Linked DNA regions of Homo sapiens: region 2 is linked to region 1. The links are contacts of gene promoters, found by promoter capture Hi-C in blood cells and fetal thymus (Javierre and others, 2016). All regions are on one chromosome and are shown on one strand. Each heading gives the region's core, a stretch centred on a gene start or on the middle of the fragment in contact. The rest is flanking DNA. Distances are from core to core; before and after follow the strand shown. Region 1 holds the start of CCDC28B (coiled-coil domain containing 28B). Region 2 holds the start of BSDC1 (BSD domain containing 1).

Evidence for each region. Contacts are between HindIII fragments. The CHiCAGO score rates a contact against its expected background, and 5 or more counts as called.
Region 2: a fragment that was not itself captured here is called in contact with the fragment with the promoter of CCDC28B in region 1 in 15 of 17 cell types (non-activated CD4 T cells, naive CD4 T cells, total CD8 T cells and 12 more); the score reaches 20.1 in non-activated CD4 T cells.

What each region holds. Positions count from the first base shown.
Region 1 is chr1:32,197,172-32,203,033 of GRCh38, forward strand. It overlaps CCDC28B (coiled-coil domain containing 28B), which reads left to right and starts at 3,424. Exons shown (of 6, transcript NM_024296.5): 1 at 3,424-3,538; 2 at 4,742-4,928. The coding sequence starts at 4,765. TXLNA (taxilin alpha) reads left to right here. Exons shown (of 11, transcript NM_175852.4): 11 at 1-1,114. RefSeq lists enhancers at 2,083-2,641, 2,642-3,199, 3,412-3,491, 3,750-4,269, 4,182-4,401 and 2 more. The HindIII fragment of the contact is 8,664 bases long and covers 1-5,862 here.
Region 2 is chr1:32,390,394-32,396,255 of GRCh38, forward strand. It overlaps BSDC1 (BSD domain containing 1), which reads right to left and starts at 4,048. Exons shown (of 11, transcript NM_018045.8): 1 at 4,011-4,048; 2 at 3,687-3,747. The coding sequence starts at 4,021. RefSeq lists enhancers at 3,089-3,786, 3,774-4,063, 3,787-4,482, 4,354-4,433, 5,181-5,862. The HindIII fragment of the contact is 1,550 bases long and covers 2,724-4,273 here.

The DNA.
Region 1 (5,862 bases), core at 2,174-4,673:
CACAGAGTGTTTGCTAGGCGAGAGAGGTGCAGGGAAGAGGCAGAGGTATGCACCTTCCCCCTTGAAGAGAGGGGAAAGGCCTACAGTGGCCCACATAATTGCCTGACTCACACTTCAGCTACCTCTTAATGCCTGTGGAGGGACTGGAGCTGCTGGATCCCAGTGTGGTGGTGTAGGAGGCCACAGTGAGCAGGTGGCCCCAGCTGGGTTTCCCAGGTCAGGAATGTGGGCCCCAGGCAAGGTGCAGCCTTTGCTCACAGCTCCATCCATGTCTAGACCTTCAGGCCAGTCTGCAGATGAGGTTCCCTACCTTTTTCTTCTCTTCATTGACCAAATCAACCAATCACTACAGCTGCTCTGCTTCTGCTTTCCAAAGTAGCCCAGGTCCTGGGCCAGATGCAGGGGAGGTGCCTATCCATGAGTGAAGGCCAGTGTCTTCCTCACCTGGGTGGGTCCCACACTTGTGACCTCAGTTTTAGGACCAAGATCTGTGTTGGTTTCTTAGATTGCTAGCTTTTCCTCCAGGGGACCACAGCAGGTGAAGCTCAAGAGCGCATGGCTCTGCTAATAGTAAATTGTTTTCAGGGCCTTGTCCAGCTGAGAGCTTCATGTCCACCAGATTCTGAGAGGTGTCAGCAGCACTTTTTTTTTTTATTTGTTGTTTGTTTTCCATGAGGTTATCGGACCATGGGCTGAGCTCAGGCACTTTCTGTAGGAGACTGTTATTTCTGTAAAGATGGTTATTTAACCCTCCTCCACCCCATCACGGTGGCCCTGAGGGCTGACCCGGAGGCCAGTGGAGCTGCCTGGTGTCCACGGGGGAGGGCCAAGGCCTGCTGAGCTGATTCTCCAGCTGCTGCCCCAGCCTTTCCGCCTTGCACAGCACAGAGGTGGTCACCCCAGGGACAGCCAGGCACCTGCTCCTCTTGCCCTTCCTGGGGGAAGGGAGCTGCCTTCTGTCCCTGTAACTGCTTTCCTTATGGCCCAGCCCGGCCACTCAGACTTGTTTGAAGCTGCACTGGCAGCTTTTTTGTCTCCTTTGGGTATTCACAACAGCCAGGGACTTGATTTTGATGTATTTTAAACCACATTAAATAAAGAGTCTGTTGCCTTACTTGTTTCTCTCCTGACCTGTGTATTCCTTTGTTTCTGGATCTGATCCATTCAGCCCCTTCCATCATCACTGACTTGTTCAGGTCTGCTGCAGAGCGCCCATGGTGGTTCCCTGGTATCTTACATATTCCACAGTGTCTTTGAGCAGTCGCCACAGCCTCAGGATGCTGGCATATTCACTTGAGCTGCCTGAGTGGAGCCCTTGGCAAAGTTGGCAAGACCCTTGCCTCAGAGAGGATCACACACACACAAAAAAGTTTTCCCTGACCTGGGGGCTCACAGGCTAGTGAAGGGAAAAGGTACTTTTAGCTATAGACAGGTCAATGGTGCTGAGAGCAGAGAGGAGGCCCCTGCCCCCTTCAGCAAGGTGAGGGGGTGATACCTGGAATGGCCTTCTGAACCACAGGGCAGGTAGAAGATGAACGTCATTTAGTGATTAAATGGTACAGCTGGGAAGCAGGTCCATGGGACTGGGAGAGGGGGTGAGGCTGGGCCCAGAGTCTGGGTACCAGGTTAAGGAATGTGGGCTAGATCCAGAGGGCAGGGGGGGCAACTGAAGGTGTTTCAATAGGAAATTGATAGGCTCCAGCAGTAAGGCAAAAGGCATGGAGCCAGGCATAGGCCATTTGAGGCCCAGGTTAAGAGGGGTGGACACTCATCACTGCTATTTGGGTCTGAGCTGTGGGTAGGCTCCTATAGCCCTGGCCTGCCCAAGGGAATTCACAGGGGCCTCTAATTGTATGCATTCCTTAAGGAGAGCACATTCTCTGTTCAGTTTTTACACCCCCCATTTACCCACCTCAAGCATGGGACTCCTATATGGGAGACATGCTGCTGGTGGCCTCACCCAGCACCCTGTTCTCTCTGGGTCCTGGGTTGGTCAGGCACAAAGGATGATATGTGCTGAATGCCCAGGAAATGGCAGAGACAACCCACCTGCCCTTCCCTCCAGGCCTCCACAAATAGATGTGCCCACAATGACTGTGACAGTCCCAGCAGAGCCTCTGACCCTTCTAGCTGGGTCCTGATACATGTTTTCCATGCTGGCCATGTTATTTCTAGTCGCAGATCCTCTGGAGGGTGTGGGGGGGGTGCCGCCCCAACTCTTGGAGATTCCAAGCAAAGCAGCTCTGAGAATAATGAGGTTTCTGACCCCCCAGTGAAGCAGCTGAGGATGGGAACCACAGGGGTGCTCCCTCTGTCAGCAGCATTACCACTGTCTACTCTAGCAGCTCCGGTGGGGAAGGAGAGGGATTTCTGTTGTCCCCAGTCTGGGCCCCTGGTTATTGAAAAAGTTCGGAATTACTCTTTACCCTTGTGGAGTGTTCTGAGTGTTGGAAGTACCCAGGAAGAAGCCCTGAGCAGGTGCCCTCAGGAGCAGTGCCCATGGCTCCCCACATCAGCCAAGAGGCCCAACCCCAGGAAGCCACTCCTGCCCGGGGATGGGGAAGGTGGGCTGGGTGGCTGTGTGCACTGCCCTGGGCCAGCTCACTTGAGCCTGCTGAGCCGCCTGGCCAAACATGAGCCTCTCTCCTGTTGTATCAGATGCTGTTCTGGGGACCTGCGCCAGGAGCCTCTGCCAGGGCTTTAAATAGCTGCCCCCATTGATCTGGCTGCAGGCAGCAGCAGTCACACTGGGTCAGCCTCCATCAGGTGCTCAGGTTTCCCTGAGGACTGGAGTCAGGTGCCAGGGAATCGCGTGGTCTACCTTATGACCTGGTGCTCCCCACACCTGTCTCCTAGGCCTGGGGGGTGGGGAGGACTCCTGTCACTTCATCTGCGGCAAAATACAGCCCCCACCACTTACCAGAGAAAACTGTCTGGCATTGTAGAGAGAGGGGTTTTGCCCTCAAAAGACTGTTGCTTACTTTCAGTAGAATGGGGAATGACACTGGTATCTTCCTTAAGGGTTGTTATGGGGATGAAATGTATGTAAAGTGCTCAATAGGGCACTGGACTCACTCCATTGATGGCTGTCTTTGCTCGAAGTGTCTTCCTGATGCTGCTGCTGTTGCTGCTTGTGCTTCTTCTGTGCTTACATTCTCTCTCTCTCACTCACTCACTCTGTCTCTCCTCTCCCCCGCCCCACCCCCTTTCTGACAAAGCCACCACCATTTTGTAAGGAACTGTAGCTTCTCTCTGAAACTGCCGGGAAAGGGAAAATCTTTTTAAAATAGACATCACACAACCAACAGGGTCCCCTAGGTTCAGGCGGGGAGGTGAGGTCGAGTGAGAGGAACTGCTTAGCATACGCGGGGATGCTCCTCCCATCTCACCCCACCGCGCTAAGGAGAAGGTCACTTTCTCTTTAAATGCAAATGAACTCCCTCCAGCTTAGCTTTCACCCGGTGGTGTTCCCGGGAGGAGAGGGCGGAGGGCGGAGGGAACTTGCACCGAAGCATCACTCGAGACCCCAAACCTCCAGGTCAGTAGCCCCCTGAGGGAGTGAGGGCGGGGGCGGAATGACGCGGGTCTGACGCTCTGTCTTCGAGCGCGGCTGCGGAGCTGAGCGATGAGTTTGGCACATGGCTTTGGAGCCCGGGCTTGGGAAATAGATCCCCGGTCGCCCCAGCCGCTCCTGGGGAGCACAGGCTCCGGCTCCAGTTCTTCTATCAGGTCCCTAATTGGGTCAAGCTGCTGCACGGAGAGGCAGAGGATGCGCTCCTATCTCCCCTCCCCACACCCGCAGACCCCGTCAGTGGCAGCCAGCTATGTGTCAGTGTAAATGCTTAAGCGCCACCCACCCCCCCAACCCCCCCAGTCCCAGAATTCGAAGTTAGGCTCGGTAGCAGCAGCCTGGAATGAGACCCCCAGAGGAGGGAACCCCAGCCGACCGGAGGCTTGGGGGGCGCTGCTGGACCGGGGACCTCGGAGCAGCCCAGCCACAGGCGCAGCCTTTGTCGGAGGCCCAGGCAGCCAGCGGCCAACCACCCAGTCCACCCTGGCTGCAGCTGAAGCCCAGCAGGGACTTTCCGACTGGGAAAAATGAAGCAGCTGAAAGCACACCCGCGGGACCTATAGGGAGTCCCTAATATTTTCGGTTGGGGGTGGGTGGAAGTGGAGGGATGCCGGTGTCTATGTGGGGGAAACCCACAATGAACCCTGCCCTGTATGCTGCGGCTTCTCCTACAATTACCCACACGCTGGGGCTTTCCCAGGCGCCCCTACCTGCACCTTGTCCCCCTCCCATGCTGACAGGGTTTGTTAGCATCTGCTTAGGCCCCTGATAAATAGAATAGGGTTTAGTTAAGACATCCCTAATCTTCGGCTGGGCTTCTGCAGCTCACCTCCGTCTTGTCTCCCACTACATTTCCTCTGCCAGCCCCGCCCCCCAGCCACCGTGACAGGAAGCCCCAGTAGCGCCAAGATAGTTGTGACTGGTCCCACCCTTTCAGGAGGGGCCTAGGTTTTCAGGCAGAAGGGGAATTAGGTTGGGCCTTAGAAGGTCCTTCAAGTGTACATCCACGATCCCAGCAGCAGACACTGGCATCTGGCTCTGCCCCTACCGTATAGATGAGGTGACAAGCTGGAAGGTCCCAGGGCCCTTCCTTGGTGCAGCTCTCAGGGATTTCTGGGTGAAGGGCTAACTTTGCCCCTGGCTATCTTTGTGGGGTTGCTTCCCTCCTAGGCCTGAGGCCCAGCCAGCGCCCAATGGATGACAAAAAGAAGAAACGGAGTCCCAAGCCCTGCCTGGCCCAGCCAGCCCAGGCCCCAGGCACACTACGGAGGGTCCCTGTGCCTACCAGCCACAGCGGCTCCTTGGCCCTAGGACTTCCTCATCTGCCATCCCCCAAGCAGCGGGCCAAGTTCAAGAGGTGGGTACAGAAGGGAAGGAAAGGAGGAGGGACCCCAACTCTGGGTTGCACTGTAGAGAGGAAGGCAAGGGGGGCCTCCGCCTTTAGTTCCTAAGCAATAATTGATGCCTTTCTGGAGCAGACCCCTGAGAACTCAGAGCTCACTCAGACCCAGTCCCTACCCTCAACTGTGTGGCAAAAAGGCCAGGTGGGTCACTGGGATCACATAGCGTGAGGATTCGCCTCAGAGGAGGGAGTGAGCAACTCTGCAAGAAAGTGAATGTTCCACGCTGAGAGGCTTACCTGGTATAAATATGGAAGAAAGCTATTACCTGAAAGGTTTCAGGAACCACAGGTGGTTTGGGGGCCCTGGAGTATCAGGGAACAGGAAATGGTGAGGAAATACCTGGGGGCACAATTTGAATTCTCTGTTGAATTTTTTTTATGATTGGGAGTTTGCATGCTGCCTTATAATGTGTCCATGTTTGTTCCCCACTAAATACAATGTATTCTTTCTCCAGTTGCTCCAGATAAGACCACTGTGTTTCCCCCTGGTTTTGCACACCACTTGCCTAAGGGGCATGAAGCTCAAGGCTGTGGGGAGAGTAGCAGGAAAGGCAACTGGGAAGGCAGGAGGGCCAGGCTGGCAGGGGCATTCAATTTTATCCTGAGAGCAGTGGAAATTTTAAGACAGTTTTTTTGGTTTATTGGTTTGGCTTTGTTTTCTATGTATTTTTGTTTTTGTTTAAAAGAGTTTTTAAATAGAAGAGGGTTGGCTGGGCATGGTGGCTCAGCCTATAATCCCAGCACTTGGGGACGCTGAGGCAGGCAGATCACCTGAGGTCAGAAGTTTGAGACCAGCTTGGTCAACATGGTGAAACCTCATCTCTGTTAAAAATACAAAAGTTAGCCAGGCGTGATGGTGGGTGCCTATAATCCCAGCAACTTGGGAGGC
Region 2 (5,862 bases), core at 2,249-4,748, 190 kb after region 1:
TGGTGACTGAACAGGTATGTTGACTGAGGGCTAGAAAAGAATCATGGAAGCACCACAGGCTGCTAAAATAGGTGACTGCGTAGATGCAGTACTGCCAGCTAAGTGAGAAAATCCTGGAGGAGGAGCAGTCCTAGAGACAAGGTGGTAACAATGACTTTGGGCACGCAGAACTTGAGATGACTGTGGGCTGTCTAGGATAGCTGTCCAGCAATAGCTATCCTCAAACACTAAAGCTGGCCGGGCATGGTGGCTCATGCCTGTAGTCCCAGCACTTTGGGAGACCAAGGTGGGCAGACTGCTTGAGCCTAGGGGTTTGAGACCAGCCTGGGCAACATGGCGAGATCTCATCTCTACAAAAAATACAAAAATTAGTTGGGCGTGATGGTACACGCCTATAGTCCCAGCTACTTGGGGGCCTGAGGTGGGAGGATTGCTTGAATCCAGGAAGTGGAGGTTGCAGAGAACCATGTTTGCATCACTGCACTTCAGCTTGGGTGACAAAGTGAGAGCCCATCTCAAAACAAAGCAAAACACAACACTAAAGTTCAGGCAAAAGGTCTAAGAGTCGCCCTAACAGGAAAGTGGAGAAGGTGACCCAGGAAGAGTTTGGAAAGTGGACAGAGCAATGGGCTGAGGACAAGTGTCCTCAGACACTACCTGTAGGGGGCAAGCAGAGGAAGAGGAACTCATGAGACAGTTACAAAAGCAACGTCTGGAGAAGTATGTGGAGACTTAAGAATCATGTCACAAATGCCAAGAGAGTAGCGTTTCAAGAGAGGGAGTGATCACTAGCGTCAAATGCAGCAGAATGGTCCAGGAAGATAAGGGCTGAAAACCACCCACTGGATTTGGCAAGCAGTAGGTAAAGCTGACTGAGTAAAGATAAGTTTATAGGTGGTGGCTTTGAGGGTGGGGAGAGAGTTAAAGATCCTGTTTGTTCACCTGAAGTTTCAAAAAGTAGATGAGGTTGTCTCCTGGAAGTGAAAGGGATAAAGCGGCTGAATAGGGGACCCCAGGGAAGAGTTAGGTTTTGGGAAAGTTTCTGAAGTTAAGGGGAGGAGAAGCAAATTGGAGACTGAAGAGTATGTGGGCCCAGATGAGGTTGGGGAATCTGTGATGGAACCAAAAAGCATTTGGTGCCTTTCTCTTTTTAATTTCTTCTTTCTGGTAAGTATGTAGAGCAATGATATGCCTTTCTCTATCAACGTGTATGCACACGTATTTGTGTCAGTCATATTGCCCTTGACAACACACAGGAAGACAGGACAGGAGGAGGTAAGGAGCAGAGGAAAGCAGATGATAGCACCATCTCATAGCTGTGGTCTTCAGGGCAATGTGTTCTAAGGAGTGCTGAGAAGTGAGTGGTCCAGATGGAGCCAGAATGGGACATACAGATAGGAAAGCACCAAAAGACCAAGAAAAAAAATGGAAGGAAAAACGAACTGGGGGTGGTATCTAAGAGGTTTTCCCATCAGCCTCAGCACTTAATAACAGCTAATGCTTATATAGCACTTACTGTATGCTAGGTACTGTTCTTAGTGTTTTACATATATTAACATTTAACCATCACCACAATCTCATCAAGTAGGTATTGTTAGTATTCCCATTTTATAGATGAGGAACTGAGGCCTAGAGAGGTTAAAAACTTGCCCAAGAGGCCAGGCGTGGTGGCTCACACCTGTAATCCTAGCACTTTGGGAGGCCGAGGCAGGCGGATCACCTGAGGTCAGGAGTTTGAGACCAGCCTGGCCAACATGGTGAAACCCTGTCTCTATTGAAAATAGAAAAATTAGCTGGGCGTGGTGGCACATGCCTGTAATCCCAGCTACTCAGGAGGCCGAGGCAGGAGAATCACTTGAACTCAGGAGGCGGAAGTTGCAGAGCTGAGACTGAGCCACTGCACTCCAGCCTGGTAACAGAGCCAGACTTGGTCTCAAAAACAAACAAACAAAAAACAAAAAACACTTGCCCAAGTACATATAAGAGTAAGAAAGTAAAAAAAGGGAAATTACGTCTTTTCTTTCCAAAAAGGCATAAACAACTCCCACCTCCACCCCCACCCCAGCTTTTAACTGGGAATTCCAAGAATGAAGACGGAAGGTTGGCCAACTATCTATTTTTCATAAGTTATGATAAGACCAACCTTGAGACAAACACAGGAGGCCCTCATGCAACATCTGCTGAATGAATGTCAGACTTTCCTGCCAGGAAATTACCCAACAGGAAATATGCTACTATCGGGTCTCTTCTATCAAATGTTAGGGTGCAAGCCTCTCAGTCCTCATCAACAACATAAACAGCTCAGGGCATTCTCAGATTTGCTGGGCTATTGCTGAGAGGCTGTCCAGGAGTACCCAGGATAAGGGAGGAATAAAAACGCTCCCAGATGTCTGGGTGTGGTGGCTCACGCCTATAATCCCAGCACTTTGGGAAGCTGAGGCAGGTGGCTCACCTGAGGTGAGGAGTTCGAGACCAGTCTGGCCAACATGGTGAAACCCTGTCTCTACTAAAAATACAAAAATTAGCCAGGAGTAGTGGCACATGCCTGTAATCCCAGCTACTCGGGAGGCTGAGGCACAAGAATCACTTCAATCTGGGAGGCAGAGGTTGCAGCGAGCTGAGACCGCACCTGTGCACTCCAGCCTAGGTGACAGAGTGAGACTCTGTCTCAAAACAAAACAAAAATACTCCCAGAGTAGAGGACTTATTTAGGTGAGGTCAGAAGCTTCCTGGAGTTGGCCCTGAAGCAGGACTCATCCCAATTGCTTGAGGTAAATAGTAATCAACTTTTCCCACAATTCAGTTGGGCTGATTTTGACAAATAAGCATGAAATGAAACAGGAATACACATTGGCAAATTACCCACTGGCACAGCCAAATATCACTCATCCCACAGAGATTGTTCAGCAAGAAGGCCTTCCACTCTCTGGTGATTAATCTCTCTCTCTCTACTGCCCGTTGCATAGCCCCTACTTAGAACTCATCAGGCACCAGTGTGTATGGCTCATGCTCATCTCTGGCTTGGGTTCTTGCTTTTCATCCTGTCTAGGCAGGGTTGCCCTTGATGAGGTTCCTTCTCCACAGGGGCCTTCCCTGGTGAGTTACTGACTAACCAGAACAGACAAGGTGCCCCTGTACTTTCCTTTCACAGAACTTACCACAACGGTAACTAAACAACTATTTGTTTGGCTACTCGGTTAATGGCTGTCTCTCCACTAGACTGTGAGCTTTGTAAGGCCCAGGATTACATCTGTTTGGCTGAAGTCTGTATCCTCAAGACCTATCAGAGTGCTGGTTGTCGCATATACTCTAATATTTGAATGACTATACGAGTAAGTTTTTTTACTGCTAGAATCTTTTCCTTCAAGACCTGTATCAAATGCTCTCTCTTTCACGAAGAAACTGAATTTCCTGAGCTGGAATAAATTGCTCCTTCCTATGGATTCCTACAAAACGTTCGTTAACTCCAGCCTTTAAAACCATCTTTATTTCACTGTGGCTAGTATCACACTGGTTTGCGTCGAGGTCTGTCTTCCCGTGGACCGGTAGAGGCTAAAAGAAAGGCCCAGGTCAGCCTCATCCTTGAGACTTAGCGCCCGCAAAAGTTGGGCGGGGCTGGTTGGACCAGGTTGCATTGAGGCGGCGCAGGGCCCTGCTGAGGGAAGAAGGGCACGGGCCCGGCTTACCTTCTCTTTGACTGCTTGGTAGCTCTGCTGCAGCCAGCTCCGCCACCATCCCACGTCCTCCCTGTGGAAGACAGACACATCTGGCAGCACCGCGGTGCGATTCCTGCCCGCCCAAGGATCCGGTTTGTTCCCCGCTCAGATGTACCCTGCGGGCCGAGGCTTCGCAGACCGCTTGCCCACCCCCTCACAATGCGACTCCACTCTGCCCTTTCAGATCAGTCCACGCCCCCGCTGATCTCACGTTCCCCACCGGGACTCTCGCCCAGCACCCCAACCCTGGGAGAATTCAGGCCCCAACGCCTAGGAGCAAAACGACAAGCTCACCCTTCCGCCATCTTGCCTGCATGACATCACCACTATTTACTGACCTTTGACTTCCGACACGGCACCGCCCCCTCAAGGACCGCCCCCGAGGCGCTCGGCCCAATCCTCGCGCCGGCACCGCCCTCAGCCCAATCCCCTCCCTGCGCCATCATTAGGTCCCGCCTCCCTGAACTCTATCCAGTCTCTGTCCCGAGTTCGCCCTCAAACTCCGCCCCTGAACTCTCAGTTCAATCGTCATTCAGTCCTGTCCTCAGGCTCCACCAAGCTTGACTCTTTGTCACTGTCCGCAAACGTCGGGTACGGTGGCCTCTATGGACGATGATCAGCCGACAAGCTGGACTGCGGAGAGCTGGGAGCAGAGGGGAGGAGGAGAGATAGCTCGAACGTCAGGATCCCAGAGCGCAGGGTTAGGACCGCCCCCCTTTGTGAAACCAGCTGCGTAGAGGCTGCTTTGTGTCTCTTTGGGCTAATTCAATAAGCCCATATTGCGGGGCTGTGGCCCAGAGTTTGGAGGAATGTGAATAATTCAGAGGCGACTTAGATGCAGCCTTTGGAGGGCTTACGGGTTAATGGGAGACACACACATTCAGTAATCTCAACTTTCGGTGGCCCAGCTCAGAACAACGCCAGGTGGAGGTGGTCTGGAGAAATCCGGAGACCGCCTGGATTGAGTTCTACTGCGATTGGAAGGGAGATTCCACAGCCCACATACTTTGGACTTTAATTAAGGTCAGCCCCTCCACGTGTGCGGTAGATCCCATCGCCTCTTGTTTGCTTAAGGACATAGATCTAGTAATCCCCCCTTCATCTCTTTTCCCTCTGATGACTGCATTTATCCTTGTCATCATCCGTACTGCTGTTTCTCCCATCTCAAAGGCAAACAAAAACCAGCCCTCTCTATATCCCTCACCGTTTCCCTACTCCCCTTTACAGCAAAAGCGTTGCCTACTCACAGTCTGCAACTCCCCTCTCCTCCCATTCTCTCTTGAACTCACTGCAGTTAGGTTTTTGCCTCTCAGACAATCCTTTGAAATAACTTTCTTTTATTTATTTAATTTTATTTAATTTTATTTATTTTATATTTATTTGTAGCTCTGCTGCAGCCAGCTCCGCCACCATCCCACGTCCTCCCTGTGGAAGACGGACACATCTATTTTATTTATTTATTTATTTTTGGTCCTCCCTGTGGAAGACGGAAACATCTATTTTATTTATTTATTTATTTTGAGTCAGAGTCTTGCTCTGTTGCCCGGGCTGGAGTGTAGTGGTGCAATCTCAGCTCGCTGCAACCTCTGCCTCCCGGGTTCAAGCGATTCTCCTGCCTCAGCCTCCCGAGTATCTGGGATTACAGTTGTGCACCACCATGCCCGACTAATTTTTGTATGTTTAGTAGAGATGGGGTTTCACTATGTTGGCCAGGCTTGTCTCGAACTCCTGACTTCAGGTGATCTGCCCTCCTCAGCCTCCCAAAGTGCTGGGATTACAGGCATGAACCACTGCACCCAGCCTGACATAACTTTCTTAAGGTCGCCAAGAGGAATGGCCACTTTTCAGTTCTTGTTTTACATCCGCATCTTATTTGACACAGTTGACCACTTTCTTCATTTGGCTTCCAGGACATCATGCCCTCTTGACTTTCTTCCCCGTTCATTGGCATCTCAGTATTCTTTGCTGTTTTCTCACCGCCTTCTTGTTGCTGGAATGGGATATTCCCTGGGAGAAGGCTCAGCCCTTGGTGTCCTCCTCCTTTTTGATGTTTATAGTCATTCCCCAGATATTCTCATAAAGTCTCATGATTTTATTTATTATTATTTTTTAAGATGGAGTCTCACTCTATTGCCCAGGCTGGAGT